3 separate regions of the Homo sapiens genome follow, and regions 2 and 3 are each linked to region 1. Evidence: promoter capture Hi-C in 16 types of primary human blood cells and fetal thymus (Javierre and others, 2016). All regions are on one chromosome and are shown on one strand. The core of a region is centred on a gene start or on the middle of the fragment in contact, and the rest is flanking DNA. Distances in the headings are between cores, read along the strand shown. Region 1 holds the start of ACAP1 (ArfGAP with coiled-coil, ankyrin repeat and PH domains 1). Region 2 holds the start of CD68 (CD68 molecule). Region 3 holds the start of SENP3 (SUMO specific peptidase 3).

Evidence for each region. The method cuts DNA at HindIII sites, captures the fragments that hold promoters and counts their contacts. A CHiCAGO score of 5 or more calls a contact.
Region 2: a contact is called between the fragment with the promoter of CD68 here and the fragment with the promoter of ACAP1 in region 1, in 14 of 17 cell types (fetal thymus, total B cells, neutrophils and 11 more). The highest score is 11.3, in fetal thymus.
Region 3: a contact is called between a fragment that was not itself captured here and the fragment with the promoter of ACAP1 in region 1, in 11 of 17 cell types (fetal thymus, total CD8 T cells, erythroblasts and 8 more). The highest score is 13.4, in fetal thymus.

The regions. Positions count from the first base shown.
Region 1 is chr17:7,334,223-7,339,263 of GRCh38, forward strand. ACAP1 (ArfGAP with coiled-coil, ankyrin repeat and PH domains 1) reads left to right here and starts at 2,307. Exons shown (of 22, transcript NM_014716.4): 1 at 2,307-2,565; 2 at 3,090-3,147. The coding sequence starts at 2,513. RefSeq lists enhancers at 1,750-2,511, 2,512-3,273 and a silencer at 2,169-2,378. The HindIII fragment of the contact is 9,667 bases long and covers 677-5,041 here.
Region 2 is chr17:7,578,363-7,582,000 of GRCh38, forward strand. It overlaps CD68 (CD68 molecule), which reads left to right and starts at 1,276. Exons shown (of 6, transcript NM_001251.3): 1 at 1,276-1,364; 2 at 1,448-1,965; 3 at 2,104-2,223; 4 at 2,349-2,421; 5 at 2,534-2,704; 6 at 3,016-3,638. The coding sequence starts at 1,316. The coding sequence ends at 3,149. EIF4A1 (eukaryotic translation initiation factor 4A1) reads left to right here. Exons shown (of 11, transcript NM_001416.4): 11 at 1-644. The coding sequence ends at 124. It overlaps SENP3-EIF4A1 (SENP3-EIF4A1 readthrough (NMD candidate)), which reads left to right. Exons shown (of 22, transcript NR_037926.1): 22 at 1-644. MPDU1-AS1 (MPDU1 antisense RNA 1) reads right to left here. Exons shown (of 2, transcript NR_136402.2): 2 at 3,612-3,638. RefSeq lists a silencer at 277-465 and enhancers at 1,941-2,000, 2,101-2,170. The HindIII fragment of the contact is 9,128 bases long and covers 1-3,638 here.
Region 3 is chr17:7,560,043-7,565,083 of GRCh38, forward strand. SENP3 (SUMO specific peptidase 3) reads left to right here and starts at 1,877. Exons shown (of 11, transcript NM_015670.6): 1 at 1,877-2,221; 2 at 3,024-3,749; 3 at 4,583-4,822; 4 at 4,917-5,028. The coding sequence starts at 3,035. It overlaps SENP3-EIF4A1 (SENP3-EIF4A1 readthrough (NMD candidate)), which reads left to right and starts at 1,950. Exons shown (of 22, transcript NR_037926.1): 1 at 1,950-2,221; 2 at 3,024-3,749; 3 at 4,583-4,822; 4 at 4,917-5,028. It overlaps TNFSF12-TNFSF13 (TNFSF12-TNFSF13 readthrough), which reads left to right. Exons shown (of 11, transcript NM_172089.4): 9 at 7-125; 10 at 308-446; 11 at 682-1,559. The coding sequence ends at 791. It overlaps TNFSF13 (TNF superfamily member 13), which reads left to right. Exons shown (of 6, transcript NM_003808.4): 4 at 7-125; 5 at 308-446; 6 at 682-1,559. The coding sequence ends at 791. RefSeq lists enhancers at 1,131-1,380, 2,647-3,343 and a silencer at 1,941-2,020. The HindIII fragment of the contact is 1,315 bases long and covers 2,165-3,479 here.

The sequences.
Region 1 (5,041 bases), core at 1,057-3,556:
AGGGAGACCTCATCTCTACAAAAAAAGAAAAAGAAAAAAATTGTTTTTAATTAGCCAGGTGTGGTGGCGTGCACCTGTAGTCCAGGCTACTGGGGAGGCTAAGGTGGGAGGATAGCTTGAGCCCAGGAGTTTGAGGCTGCCGTGAGCGATGATGGCACTAACACATTCCAGCCTGGGTAACATAGCAAGATCTTGTCTCAAAAAATAAATAAAAAAATAAACAAAAGTCCGAGACAACCATGGGGGGAGGTGGAGCGGTCACTGAAGTTTTTCTAAAATGGGAAGGGTAAGAGAAGTCAGTGAGATGAGGATCTGGGGCCTGAGCTTCTCCCCTCTGGTGAGGGCCCACAACAGACACCTGGGAGGCATGGATACACCAGATGGCTAGAAGACTTGGATTCATTTGATTGATTCCTCAGATTCCTCCACCTACAGAAATCAGTCCCCCCAGCTGTGGCCACTATCATATTGGGGCAGGAGATTGCTCTGCAGCACAAGGAATATGATGGCAAAGGACTATACCTGAGGTCCTGCTCCCACCCAGAGCTTGTAGAGGACGTGGAAGATGAGCATCAGGATGGTGAGAACCTGGGCAGGCCAGCCTAGGGGGCAGGAGGGCTGGGAATGCACAGCCTGATGGGTACCCGAGCCCTGATCCCTGATTCTAGGCTCCACAAGCTTGACCTAGGTGATTGAGAACCCCGTAAGCACTGAAGTCCACCTACTGGACCACATGGGAGGCCCCTTTAGGGATCACAAGGCCACGGAGAGCTCCCTGATGGCAACAATGACAACATTGCAGCCTGTTGAGGGCACCAGGCCACCATCTCCCTGGGGCTGTCTCTTGGCAAGCTCCCATCTCCCAGCCCTCCAATTCTTTCAGGCCAGTACATCAGCAACAGGTGGAAGGAGAGGCCCTGAACAGCCTCAAGTCCAAGGTCCACATTGGACAGGCGAGGAACCAGGGAGACTCAGAGGCGGTTGGGACCCCCTCCAGCTTGGCACCACACACTGGCTCCATGCCTCCTCCTTCACTCCTCTGCCACACCACCCCACTCCAGGTATTTCTCTGTCCTCCAAAGACAGTGAGTCTCAAGTGGTGTCCAGCTGGTGGCTGGGGGGCTGAGCTGGCAAAGCCCAAGGAGTTCAGAGAGGGAGAGTGGAAGCAACCCCAACTCCTCAAGCCAGAACAAGCACAGCCTGGCACACTGAGCCTGGGCAGAGGCAAGGGGATGCATACACTGGCCAGGGAGGTAGAGGAGCTGAGTGGGGAGGTTCTAGGGGATCCAGAGTCACATGGACAAGATCTCATGCCTGCTACGAGAAAGCCATGAACTCAAACTCTTCTCTCCAGATGAAACCCTGGGACTTCAATGGACTCAAGAAAAGGAAAGCAAACAATGGAAAATGGGGCTGGTTGGGGGCGGAGTGGGGGCAACCTTCCCTTCATGACCACCCTATGAATAGAAATAAAGAGCAGAAGAGCAAGAGTCTGGGAGCTGTGAATCGGGTGCTCAGGCTGGGCCTGCTCAGTCGTTGAGGAGAGGGGAGGAGGAAGGGGAGTTCACACACAGGAACCATGAATATGACGGCAAAACGAAGAAAGCTGGGAGCAGTCCGGGGTACTGGACTCCACAGGAGCAGGCCCAAGCTGTAGCAGGATGACAATGACTGATGCAATTAATATAGTGAACCAGCTGGGCACAGTGGCTCACGCCTGTAATCCTAGCACTTTGGGAGGCCGAGGTGGGTGGATCACCTGAGGTCAGGAGGTCGAGACAAGTCTGACCAACAAGGTGAAACCCCGTCCCTACTGAAAATACAAAAAGTTAGCCGGGCATGATGGCAGGAGCCTGTAGTCCCAGCTACTCGGGAGGCTGAGACAGGAGAATTGCTTGAACCCAGGAGGCGGAGGTTGTAGTGAGCCGACATCGCGCCACTGCACTGCAGCCTGGGCGATGGAGGGAGACTCCGTCTCATAAATAAATAAATTTAGTGAACCATGAATTTACTGCTATCACCTTCTTCACTTCGTACAGCCCTGGAGGAAGGGGTTATCATTCCCATCTTCCAGATGAGAAAACTGAGGAATCAGAGAGCTCGTCCAGGGGCACATAACCTCTAAGTGACAGAGCCAGGATTTGAACCTAGATCTGCCAGGCCCCCAAGATAACCACGAAGAGAGAAAGAAACAGAGGCTAGAGCCCCAGGAGGAAGGAGCTGGCAGATCGTCTCTGAGGGTGGGGCTGTGGCTTCTCTGATCTCAGGCCCCCATCCTCCGCCCAGGCCCCGCCCCTGCCCCTCCCAGCACTGCCTGGAAGTGTGGGGTGAGAGCTCCTCCTAGGACACCCCTTTCCCCTTGGGGAAAGAATTGTGCCCCCAGGCCCTTCCCCGCGGAGGTCCCTCTCCTCCTTCCCCCTCATCTCCCCTTCCTGGGACAGAAAGTGCCTCCACCTGCATCCCCAGGGGCCCGGCCTCCAGGGCCCGCTGGCCCCACAGCAGGCAAGCTGAGATGACGGTCAAGCTGGATTTCGAGGAGTGTCTCAAGGACTCACCCCGTTTCCGGTAAGTGTGAACTGGTCTGGGGGGCTAAGGAGGGGAAAGTCTAACACCCCCAGCACACACACACCTTTCCCCAGGCCAGGTCTCCTTCCAGGGAGCAGGCCTCTAAGAGGCAGGAGCGAGCCTGTGGGCCAAAGTGGTACCCCAGCTGTGAAAGCAGGGTACTCCAATGCTCTCTGCCCCTGCATGCTCCTCCTGGCCTCTGCAGTTTCCCTCACCCCTAGAGCTGGCATTCCCTCTGGCCTCTCAGTGGGACCCCTGCCCCTCCCCCAGCACCTGCTCTGGGGCGGTTAGCAACTTCCTGCCCTGGCCACATCCACCCTCCTTCTACCCTTCCTGCTCTGGCCTGGGCTGTGGTAGCTCCCAGACTGCAGAGCGGGCAGAGCACAAGTAGGTGGGTGGGGGGCGAGCCTCTCAACTCTGCAGCTTTCTCCTCCGTACCCACCGCCCTGCGACTCCATCCCGCCTGATGAGGCAGACAGACCAGATGGACCCAAGCTCTCTTCCCATGACCCCCTCTTTCCCAGAGCCTCTATTGAGCTGGTGGAAGCCGAAGTGTCAGAATTGGAGACCCGTCTGGAAAAGGTGACCCTGACATGGAGAGGTGACCCAGGAGTGGATTAGGTTGAGAGGGGTAGGGCCAGGGAGAAAGCTGGAGACACAGAATGCATCCCAGGGATTATTGAATACTGTGTAGGGGAGATATTTTGGAGACTGCAGAGAAGCAAAAAAGGTGGTTCTGTACCGACAAGAAGCTCAGGATCTTGGAAAACAAGACTTACTTTTGGGCCAGGCATGGTAGCTCATGCCTGTAATCCCAGCACTTTGGGAGGCCAAGGTGAATGGATCACCTGAGGTCAGGAGTTCTAGACCAGCCTGGCTAACATGGCGAAACCCCATCTCTACTAAAAATGCAAAAATCATCCAGGCTTAGTGGCACCCATCTGTAGCTCCAGCTACTCAAGAGGCTGAGGCAGAGGAATCACTTGAACCTGGGAGGCGGAGGTTGCAGTGAGCCAAGATCGCACCACTGCACTCCAGGCTAGGCGACAGAGCGAGACTCTGTGTCAAAAAAAAAAAGACTTAATTTTGGACTTCCTTGTTCTGCTCTTGAGCTCCTGCATTGTGCCAGGCCCTGGGCATTCAGGGAGGACAAGATCATTTCTGCTCCCACGGAGCCCAAAGGCTGACTAGAAGACAAACCAGTGAAACGTTTCAATTCAAGACAGTAAGGTGTCCCCTGAGCACTCTATCAAACAGCATGTTCACACAAATACACACTCAAATGCTCTCTCATTCCCCTTACTTCGCTTTACTTTTCTCTGCAACATTTACCTCTGACACATTATGTATTTGCTTGCTATATATTAGTTCTCTATTGCTGTGTAACAAATTGTCACAAATTTAGTGGGCAACATTGTTTTATGGGCAACATGGTGAGACCTCATCTCTACAAATAATAATTTTATTTTTATTTTTATTTATTTGAGATGGAGTCTCGCTCTGTCACCCAGGCTGGAGTGCAGTGGTGCGATCTCGGCTTACTGGAACCTCCACCTCCCAGGTTCAAGTGATTCTCCTACCTCAGCCTCCCAAGTAGCTGGGATTACAGGTGTGCACCACCACACCTGGATAATTTTTTTTCTTTTTGTATTTTTAGTAAAGACAGGGTCTCACCATGTTGGCTAAGCTGGTCTTGAACTCCTGACCTCAAATGATCTACCTGCCGCAGCCTCCCAAAGTGCTGGCATTACAGGCTTAAGCCACCGCACCCGGCCTACAAATAATAATTTTAAACAATGGACTGGATGGAGTGGCCACAGCTGTGATCCCAGATGCTTCAATACTGGGCTCAAGTGATCCTCCCTCCTCAACCTCCCCAGTAGCTGTGCTACAGGCACATGCCACCACGCCTGGCTTTTTTAAATTTAAATTTATTTTTTGTAGAGATGGGGTCTCCCTATGTTACCTAGGCTGGTCTGGAACTCCTGGCCTCAAGTAATCCTCCCACCTCAGCCTCCCAAAGTGCTGGAATTACAGGTGTGAGCCACCACACCTGGCCTGAATTTTTTATTTTGAGTAAATTATTGACTCAGGAGACTAGTGAGGAGAGGTCTCATGTACCCATCACCCAGCTTCCCCCAGTGGTGACATCTTATACAATACTAGTACATTATTAAAACCAGGACATTAATAGTGTCACATTACAATTAACAATAAACTCGGCCAGGTGTGGTGGCTCACGCCTGTAATCCCAGCACTTTGGGAGGCCAAGGTGGGCGGATCACGAGGTCAGGAGATCGAAACCATCCTGGCTAACACTGTGAAACCCCGTCTCTACTAAAAATACAAAAAATTATTCGGGTGTGGCGGCAGGCGCCTGTAGTCCCAGCTACTCAGGAGGCTGAGGCAGGAGAATGGCGCGAACCCGGGAGGTGGAGCTTGCAGTGAGTGGAGGTCGTGCCACTGCACTCCAGCC
Region 2 (3,638 bases), core at 26-2,525, 240 kb after region 1:
TGGCCGTAAAGGTGTGGCTATTAACATGGTGACAGAAGAAGACAAGAGGACTCTTCGAGACATTGAGACCTTCTACAACACCTCCATTGAGGAAATGCCCCTCAATGTTGCTGACCTCATCTGAGGGGCTGTCCTGCCACCCAGCCCCAGCCAGGGCTCAATCTCTGGGGGCTGAGGAGCAGCAGGAGGGGGGAGGGAAGGGAGCCAAGGGATGGACATCTTGTCATTTTTTTTCTTTGAATAAATGTCACTTTTTGAGGCAAAAGAAGGAACCGTGAACATTTTAGACACCCTTTTCTTTGGGGTAGGCTCTTGCCCCAGGCGCCGGCTCTTCTCCCAAAAAAAAAAAAAAAACACTAATCCATTTCCCTAACCTAGTAACCTCCAGATCCCAGAGGCTCTCCTCACCTCAGCTGAGCTCCTTTGAAAGTGATTCAAGGGACTATGTCACTCAGCCTCATTTGCTGGACCAAATCTGGAGGGAGAACCCCTAAAACCCCTAAGTGAGGTTGCCCAGGGGGTTGTCCCCAGGTGGGGGGAAGCAGGGGAGAGAAAATGGTAGCCATTTTTACATTGTTTTGTATAGTATTTATTGATTCAGGAAACAAACACAAAATTCTGAATAAAATGACTTGGAAACTGCCTGTTTGGGCTTCTCATTTCTTACCTCCCCTTCCCTCTCCCACCTGCTACTGGGTGCATCTCTGCTCCCCCCTTCCCCAGCAGATGGTTACCTTTGGGCTGTTGCTTTCTTGTCACCATCTGAGTTCTCAGACGCTGGAAAGCCATGTTCTCGGCTCTGTGAATGACAATGCTGACTGGAGTGCTGCCCCTCTGTAAAGGGCTGGGTGTGGATGGTCACAAGCCCCTCACATGCCTCAGCCAAGAGGAAGTAGTACAGGGGTCAGCCCAGAGGTCCAGGGGAAAGGAGTGGAAACCGATTTCCCCACCAAGGGAGGGGCCTGTACCTCAGCTGTTCCCATAGCTACTTGCCACAACTGCCAAGCAAGTTTCGCTGAGTTTGACACATGGATCCCTGTGGATCAACTGCCCTAGGACTCCGTTTGCACCCATGTGACACTGTTGACTTTGCCCTGATGAAGCAGGGCCAACAGTCCCCTAACTTAATTACAAAAACTAATGACTAAGAGAGAGGTGGCTAGAGCTGAGGCCCCTGAGTCAGGCTGTGGGTGGGATCATCTCCAGTACAGGAAGTGAGACTTTCATTTCCTCCTTTCCAAGAGAGGGCTGAGGGAGCAGGGTTGAGCAACTGGTGCAGACAGCCTAGCTGGACTTTGGGTGAGGCGGTTCAGCCATGAGGCTGGCTGTGCTTTTCTCGGGGGCCCTGCTGGGGCTACTGGCAGGTAAGGAGGAAGGAGGCTGAGGGGAGGGGGCCCCTGGGAGGGAGCCTGCCCTGGGTTGCTAACCATCTCCTCTCTGCCAAAAGCCCAGGGGACAGGGAATGACTGTCCTCACAAAAAATCAGCTACTTTGCTGCCATCCTTCACGGTGACACCCACGGTTACAGAGAGCACTGGAACAACCAGCCACAGGACTACCAAGAGCCACAAAACCACCACTCACAGGACAACCACCACAGGCACCACCAGCCACGGACCCACGACTGCCACTCACAACCCCACCACCACCAGCCATGGAAACGTCACAGTTCATCCAACAAGCAATAGCACTGCCACCAGCCAGGGACCCTCAACTGCCACTCACAGTCCTGCCACCACTAGTCATGGAAATGCCACGGTTCATCCAACAAGCAACAGCACTGCCACCAGCCCAGGATTCACCAGTTCTGCCCACCCAGAACCACCTCCACCCTCTCCGAGTCCTAGCCCAACCTCCAAGGAGACCATTGGAGACTACACGTGGACCAATGGTTCCCAGCCCTGTGTCCACCTCCAAGCCCAGATTCAGATTCGAGTCATGTACACAACCCAGGGTGGAGGAGAGGTAAAGCTAAAACTGGGGGATGAGAGGGGAGGGAGGCAGGACTGGATATAGGCTCAGAGGGAAGAAGGAAGAGGGGACAGGGAACCTTGGCCGGCATCGCATGCAGTCTTGTGACCTTCCAGTCTTTAACTTCCGCAGGCCTGGGGCATCTCTGTACTGAACCCCAACAAAACCAAGGTCCAGGGAAGCTGTGAGGGTGCCCATCCCCACCTGCTTCTCTCATTCCCCTATGGACACCTCAGCTTTGGATTCATGCAGGTATAGCCATGACCTCAGTCTCACCCCTCACTCAGCCTCCCGGCGCCCCTCCCCTCCCAATCCCACACGCTACTCCTTCCTCTGTGGAGAGGGATACCACCTGCGCCTTCCTCTTCGCCCCACAGGACCTCCAGCAGAAGGTTGTCTACCTGAGCTACATGGCGGTGGAGTACAATGTGTCCTTCCCCCACGCAGCACGTAAGTAACCTCCTTCCCTTTCTCATTGCTACCACTAGACGCCAGGGTTCCTGAAAGGACTAAGCTGGGGCCAGGGAGGTGGATAGGATCTGACCCTTCCTCACTCCTCCAGAGTGGACATTCTCGGCTCAGAATGCATCCCTTCGAGATCTCCAAGCACCCCTGGGGCAGAGCTTCAGTTGCAGCAACTCGAGCATCATTCTTTCACCAGCTGTCCACCTCGACCTGCTCTCCCTGAGGCTCCAGGCTGCTCAGCTGCCCCACACAGGGGTCTTTGGGCAAAGTAAGACCTACCTACTCCTTCCCTCCTAGAATCCTCCCACTGCACTGAAAACCCCTTCCCCAGGCCCATAAGCCACTCATCTCTCTTCTTAACCCCCCAAATCTCGCTCTCCCAGCTTGTCATGGCTACAGGGCAGCTTTCTTTCCATCCTCTACAAGACTCTGCCAGTTTCCCCCTTTTATCACTGCTGAGTCACTGCGGTGAGCTCCTCACCAATCTCCTACTCCCCAGCATCCCCCCATTCCCTCCTCCCACCTTTATCCCAACCAGCACGTCACTGCAAATACCTACCTGCCCTATCCTTCCGCCAGGTTTCTCCTGCCCCAGTGACCGGTCCATCTTGCTGCCTCTCATCATCGGCCTGATCCTTCTTGGCCTCCTCGCCCTGGTGCTTATTGCTTTCTGCATCATCCGGAGACGCCCATCCGCCTACCAGGCCCTCTGAGCATTTGCTTCAAACCCCAGGGCACTGAGGGGGTTGGGGTGTGGTGGGGGGGTACCCTTATTTCCTCGACACGCAACTGGCTCAAAGACAATGTTATTTTCCTTCCCTTTCTTGAAGAACAAAAAGAAAGCCGGGCATGACGGCTCATGCCTGTAATCCCAGCACTTTGGGAGGCTGAGGCAGGTGGATCACTGGAGGTCAGGAGTTTGAGACCAGCCTGGCCAACATGGTGAAACCCTGTCTCTACTAAAAATACAATTAGCCAGGTGTGGCGGCGTAATCCCAGCTGGCCTGTAATCCCAGCTACTTGGGAGGCTGAGGCAGAACTGCTTGAACCCAGGAGGTGGAGGTTGCAGTGAGCCGTCATCGCGCCACTAAGCCAAGATCGCGCCACTGCACTCCAGCCTGGGCGACAGAGCCAGACTGTCTCAAATAAATAAATATGAGATAATGCAGTCGGGAGAAGGGAGGGAGAGAATTTTATTAAAT
Region 3 (5,041 bases), core at 1,572-4,071, 230 kb after region 1:
CTCCAGATGACTCCGATGTGACAGAGGTGATGTGGCAACCAGCTCTTAGGCGTGGGAGAGGCCTACAGGCCCAAGGATATGGTGTCCGAATCCAGGATGCTGGAGTTTATCTGCTGTATAGCCAGGTAACCCCAGCCACACTCTGAGCTTCACAGAGGGCCTCTTTGGCCCCCTACTGAGGGTTCCTGACCCCTCTATTCATACCAAACCCAGCAGACCCTTCTTTCTTCCCTCGTTAGCGCTCCTGAGGCCTCCCAGAACTGAGCCAGGCCATCCTGTTTTCTTCAACATCTCCCTTCCCTGCCAGGTCCTGTTTCAAGACGTGACTTTCACCATGGGTCAGGTGGTGTCTCGAGAAGGCCAAGGAAGGCAGGAGACTCTATTCCGATGTATAAGAAGTATGCCCTCCCACCCGGACCGGGCCTACAACAGCTGCTATAGCGCAGGTGAGAGCCGTGTGGGCAGCCGAAAGCAGGACGTCTCTGACCGGGGGTAGCAGTGCAGGGAGCTACCGCTAGGAGGGAGGTTGGAAACCTAAACAGAGGCGGGTCTGAGGAGTGAAGTGCAGAATGCCGGGTCCTTACAGGAGGCAGAGGAACGGTGGAGCTGGAGAAGGCAGGGGGAAACAGGGCATCTGGATGGCTGTGCTTCACTGCGAATCTACTTTCTCTCTTTTCTCAGGTGTCTTCCATTTACACCAAGGGGATATTCTGAGTGTCATAATTCCCCGGGCAAGGGCGAAACTTAACCTCTCTCCACATGGAACCTTCCTGGGGTTTGTGAAACTGTGATTGTGTTATAAAAAGTGGCTCCCAGCTTGGAAGACCAGGGTGGGTACATACTGGAGACAGCCAAGAGCTGAGTATATAAAGGAGAGGGAATGTGCAGGAACAGAGGCGTCTTCCTGGGTTTGGCTCCCCGTTCCTCACTTTTCCCTTTTCATTCCCACCCCCTAGACTTTGATTTTACGGATATCTTGCTTCTGTTCCCCATGGAGCTCCGAATTCTTGCGTGTGTGTAGATGAGGGGCGGGGGACGGGCGCCAGGCATTGTCCAGACCTGGTCGGGGCCCACTGGAAGCATCCAGAACAGCACCACCATCTAGCGGCCGCTCGAGGGAAGCACCCGCCGGTTGGCCGAAGTCCACGAAGCCGCCCTCTGCTAGGGAAAACCCCTGGTTCTCCATGCCACACCTCTCTCCAGGTGCCCTCTGCCTCTTCACCCCACAAGAAGCCTTATCCTACGTCCTTCTCTCCATCTATCGGACCCCAGTTTCCATCACTATCTCCAGAGATGTAGCTATTATGCGCCCGTCTACAGGGGGTGCCCGACGATGACGGTGCCTTCGCAGTCAAATTACTCTTCGGGTCCCAAGGTTTGGCTTTCACGCGCTCCATTGCCCCGGCGTGGCAGGCCATTCCAAGCCCTTCCGGGCTGGAACTGGTGTCGGAGGAGCCTCGGGTGTATCGTACGCCCTGGTGTTGGTGTTGCCTCACTCCTCTGAGCTCTTCTTTCTGATCAAGCCCTGCTTAAAGTTAAATAAAATAGAATGAATGATACCCCGGCTCCATTTCCCCCACTGCCTCGCCTCAGCCCGGTCCTCGTACGGGGATCTCCCGCCCTCCTGGCTCTCCTGTGGCGCGCCCCCCGCCGGATCAAGGTACTGGGGATGCCGCTAGGGTCAGGCCCGCGAGCGCGGAGAAGACAGAGCGCGGCGCAAAAGGGAAAGTGGCGGGGCCGCCACGCGCGGCCGGGCGGCGGATGTGCGCAGGCGCAGCCTCGCGTAGCGCTCTGGGCTGGCCAGTCCCGTGGCGCCGGCGTCCTCGGGTAGACGGGACCGCGCGCTTGGTGGCCGCGCCGGCGCTCTTCGCCGGGTGTGACGTACTAATCGTGCGCCACCGCTGCCGGTGGGCCCGGGGCTCGCGGGAGGGGAAGGAGGAGGGGGGGAGGAGTGGCGGCGGCGGCGGTGGCGCTGGTGGCGGCGGTGGCGGAGGTGGAGGTGGAGGTGGAAGCTGAAGCTGAAGCAGAGCCAGAGGCGGCGCGGCGGGGTGCTCGGCGGCGCGGCACGCGGCCCAGAAGCGTTGGAATCCTGAATTGAGACGGCTGCGCCTAAAGACAGCAGGAGTGGCGGGGCCGCCGCCGTCGCCGGAGAGATGAGCCGGGAAGCTTGAGGCCGGAGACGCCCGCCTTCGGGCCCGTCCGCCCGGCTTCCCCGCTCCCGGTGAGGACGCCCCCTCCCCTCCCCCCAGCCCTGCCTTGGCCTCTCCCATTCCTGGGCCTCGCTCCCACCGAACCGGGGCCCAGAGGCCCGCATAGGGGCTTCTTAAGGCCCGTGTGCGCCGAGCCATCCAAGCTCGTGGGACCGGACTGGTGCCGGGTTGCATTCTGGTCCCCGAGGATGAAGTAGGAGGGGGCTGGGCCGGCCTGGCTTGTGCGCTCCGTTCTGTCCCAGCGTCTTGATTCGGTTCTCTTTAAGTTTCCTTCAAAGTTCTTCCCCGTTTATCAGCCTCTGCCCCCTGAACCATATCCCTGGCATCTGCACTTGAGATGACCGCAGCCTTCCCATGCCCCCCGTTCATCCAGGGTGTTAGAGAACTGTCTCCCATTCCAGTCCAGTTTCCACGTGCAAGTTGCATTCTCCTCAAGTACCACGGTTATCATGTCCCTGAGGAAAGAAACTGCCCTTGTTGGGCCCTCAAAGGACAGCCCTGGTGGTATTAAAATAAAGACGTAGAACCTGGCAGTGCTATTGGGTTTGGCCTGGTGATCTTAGAAATAAGATCTCTGAGGCCTGCTGCTTAGCCATTTTCCCTTGTCTCTGGACTGGGGAGAGATGATGGCACAGACCCTGAAGGGCCCCTTGTGGACCGCGTTAACCGGGAAGATCTTAAGTTAGGAGTTTTGCGTTTTTTCCTCTTTTCTTTATTTGCATCTGAATCCAGAGGAGGCATGGCCAGGAAGAGAGGCAGGATCTGCGGTGGGGTGATGCTTAGATTTTGATACCCTGATCTTTTGTTTTTCAGGGTACTGGAAGATGAAAGAGACTATACAAGGGACCGGGTCCTGGGGGCCTGAGCCTCCTGGACCCGGCATACCCCCAGCTTACTCAAGTCCCAGGCGGGAGCGTCTTCGTTGGCCCCCACCTCCCAAACCCCGACTCAAGTCAGGTGGAGGGTTTGGGCCAGATCCTGGGTCAGGGACCACAGTGCCAGCCAGACGCCTCCCTGTCCCCCGACCCTCTTTTGATGCCTCAGCAAGTGAAGAGGAGGAAGAAGAGGAGGAGGAGGAGGATGAAGATGAAGAGGAGGAAGTGGCAGCTTGGAGGCTGCCCCCAAGATGGAGTCAGCTGGGAACCTCCCAGCGGCCCCGCCCTTCCCGCCCCACTCATCGAAAAACCTGCTCACAGCGCCGCCGCCGAGCCATGAGAGCCTTCCGGATGCTGCTCTACTCAAAAAGCACCTCGCTGACATTCCACTGGAAGCTTTGGGGGCGCCACCGGGGCCGGCGGCGGGGCCTCGCACACCCCAAGAACCATCTTTCACCCCAGCAAGGGGGTGCGACGCCACAGGTGCCATCCCCCTGTTGTCGTTTTGACTCCCCCCGGGGGCCACCTCCACCCCGGCTGGGTCTGCTAGGTGCTCTCATGGCTGAGGATGGGGTGAGAGGGTCTCCACCAGTGCCCTCTGGGCCCCCCATGGAGGAAGATGGACTCAGGTGGACTCCAAAGTCTCCTCTGGACCCTGACTCGGGTAAGGTGGGAAAGGGGTGTGGGGTTGCGGGGGAGGGGTTAGGGAGGGTTAAGAGCCTGGAGCACCAGGAGCCTGTTGCCATGGTGAGAGCTGGGCTTAAGGAAAGTAGGATGGAAGAGTGCCGGCTCCAGAAGAGCTGCGAAATGTCTCCATTAAGCCCCACTTTGAGCAGAAAGTAAGCCTGGGAGTGAGCCTGGCAGTTTCCCAGGCAGAGCTAGGAAACAGATGCCCTAAGTAGGTATCCCGTGGTCTTGAGCGCAGATGAGAAAGGGAGATGTGGTTTACAAAAATCCTGTCCACACGAAATCCCTTGTCGGCCTCTCAGTATAAGAACCCCCGTGTATACATCTCCAGAGGGTACCATTCCCAAAGTGACGGGATGGGATCTCTCCCAGTAGTGGAGTACATCATCTTACAGTTGTGAAAGAATATTTCCCTTTCGGAGAACTCCAGCCAAACAGTTTCAGGCTCTCTAGGTCTTTATTACATATTCTAGTATTCATTGAGCCTTTACAATATGCTGGGTACTATGCTGGGTGTTTGGCATATAGTGGTGACAAATATCCCGAAGTTTTCATTTCTAAATGCTAATCCTTTTTCTTTCTTCCTGTCTATGAGTAGGAACTCTCTCTCCATCCCTGTAGAATCTCTTGGACATGTTTATCTCATGCTTATGGGGTCCCCATTTCTTGGAGTGGGATTGACATTGGTGGATTCTGCTTCAGTGTATCCTTCTTGCGGTCTTATTTGCATGCATGAGTCAACTGTGTGCATCCCATTGTGCTTTCCCCAGGCCAGTCTCTCATGCCCATTCCATTTCCCCTGCCCTATAGGCCTCCTTTCATGTACTCTGCCCAACGGTTTTGGGGGACAATCTGGGCCAGAAGGGGAGCGCAGCTTGGCACCCCCTGATGCCAGCATCCTCATCAGCAATGTGTGCAGCATCGGGGACCATGTGGCCCAGGAGCTTTTTCAGGGCTCAGATTTGGGCATGGCAGAAGAGGCAGAGAGGCCTGGGGAGAAAGCCGGCCAGCACAGCCCCCTGCGAGAGGAGCATGTGACCTGCGTACAGAGTAAGGAGCCCTTAAGCAACTAGCCTCTCTCCCTTCTCCGACTCCTAGAGGAGAGTCTGGAGGCCTCACCCCCTCCTCTCTCCCTTTCCACCAGGCATCTTGGACGAATTCCTTCAAACGTATGGCAGCCTCATACCCCTCAGCACTGATGAGGTAGTAGAGAAGCTGGAGGACATTTTCCAGCAGGAGTTTTCCACCCCTTCCAGGTGAGGCTTGAAA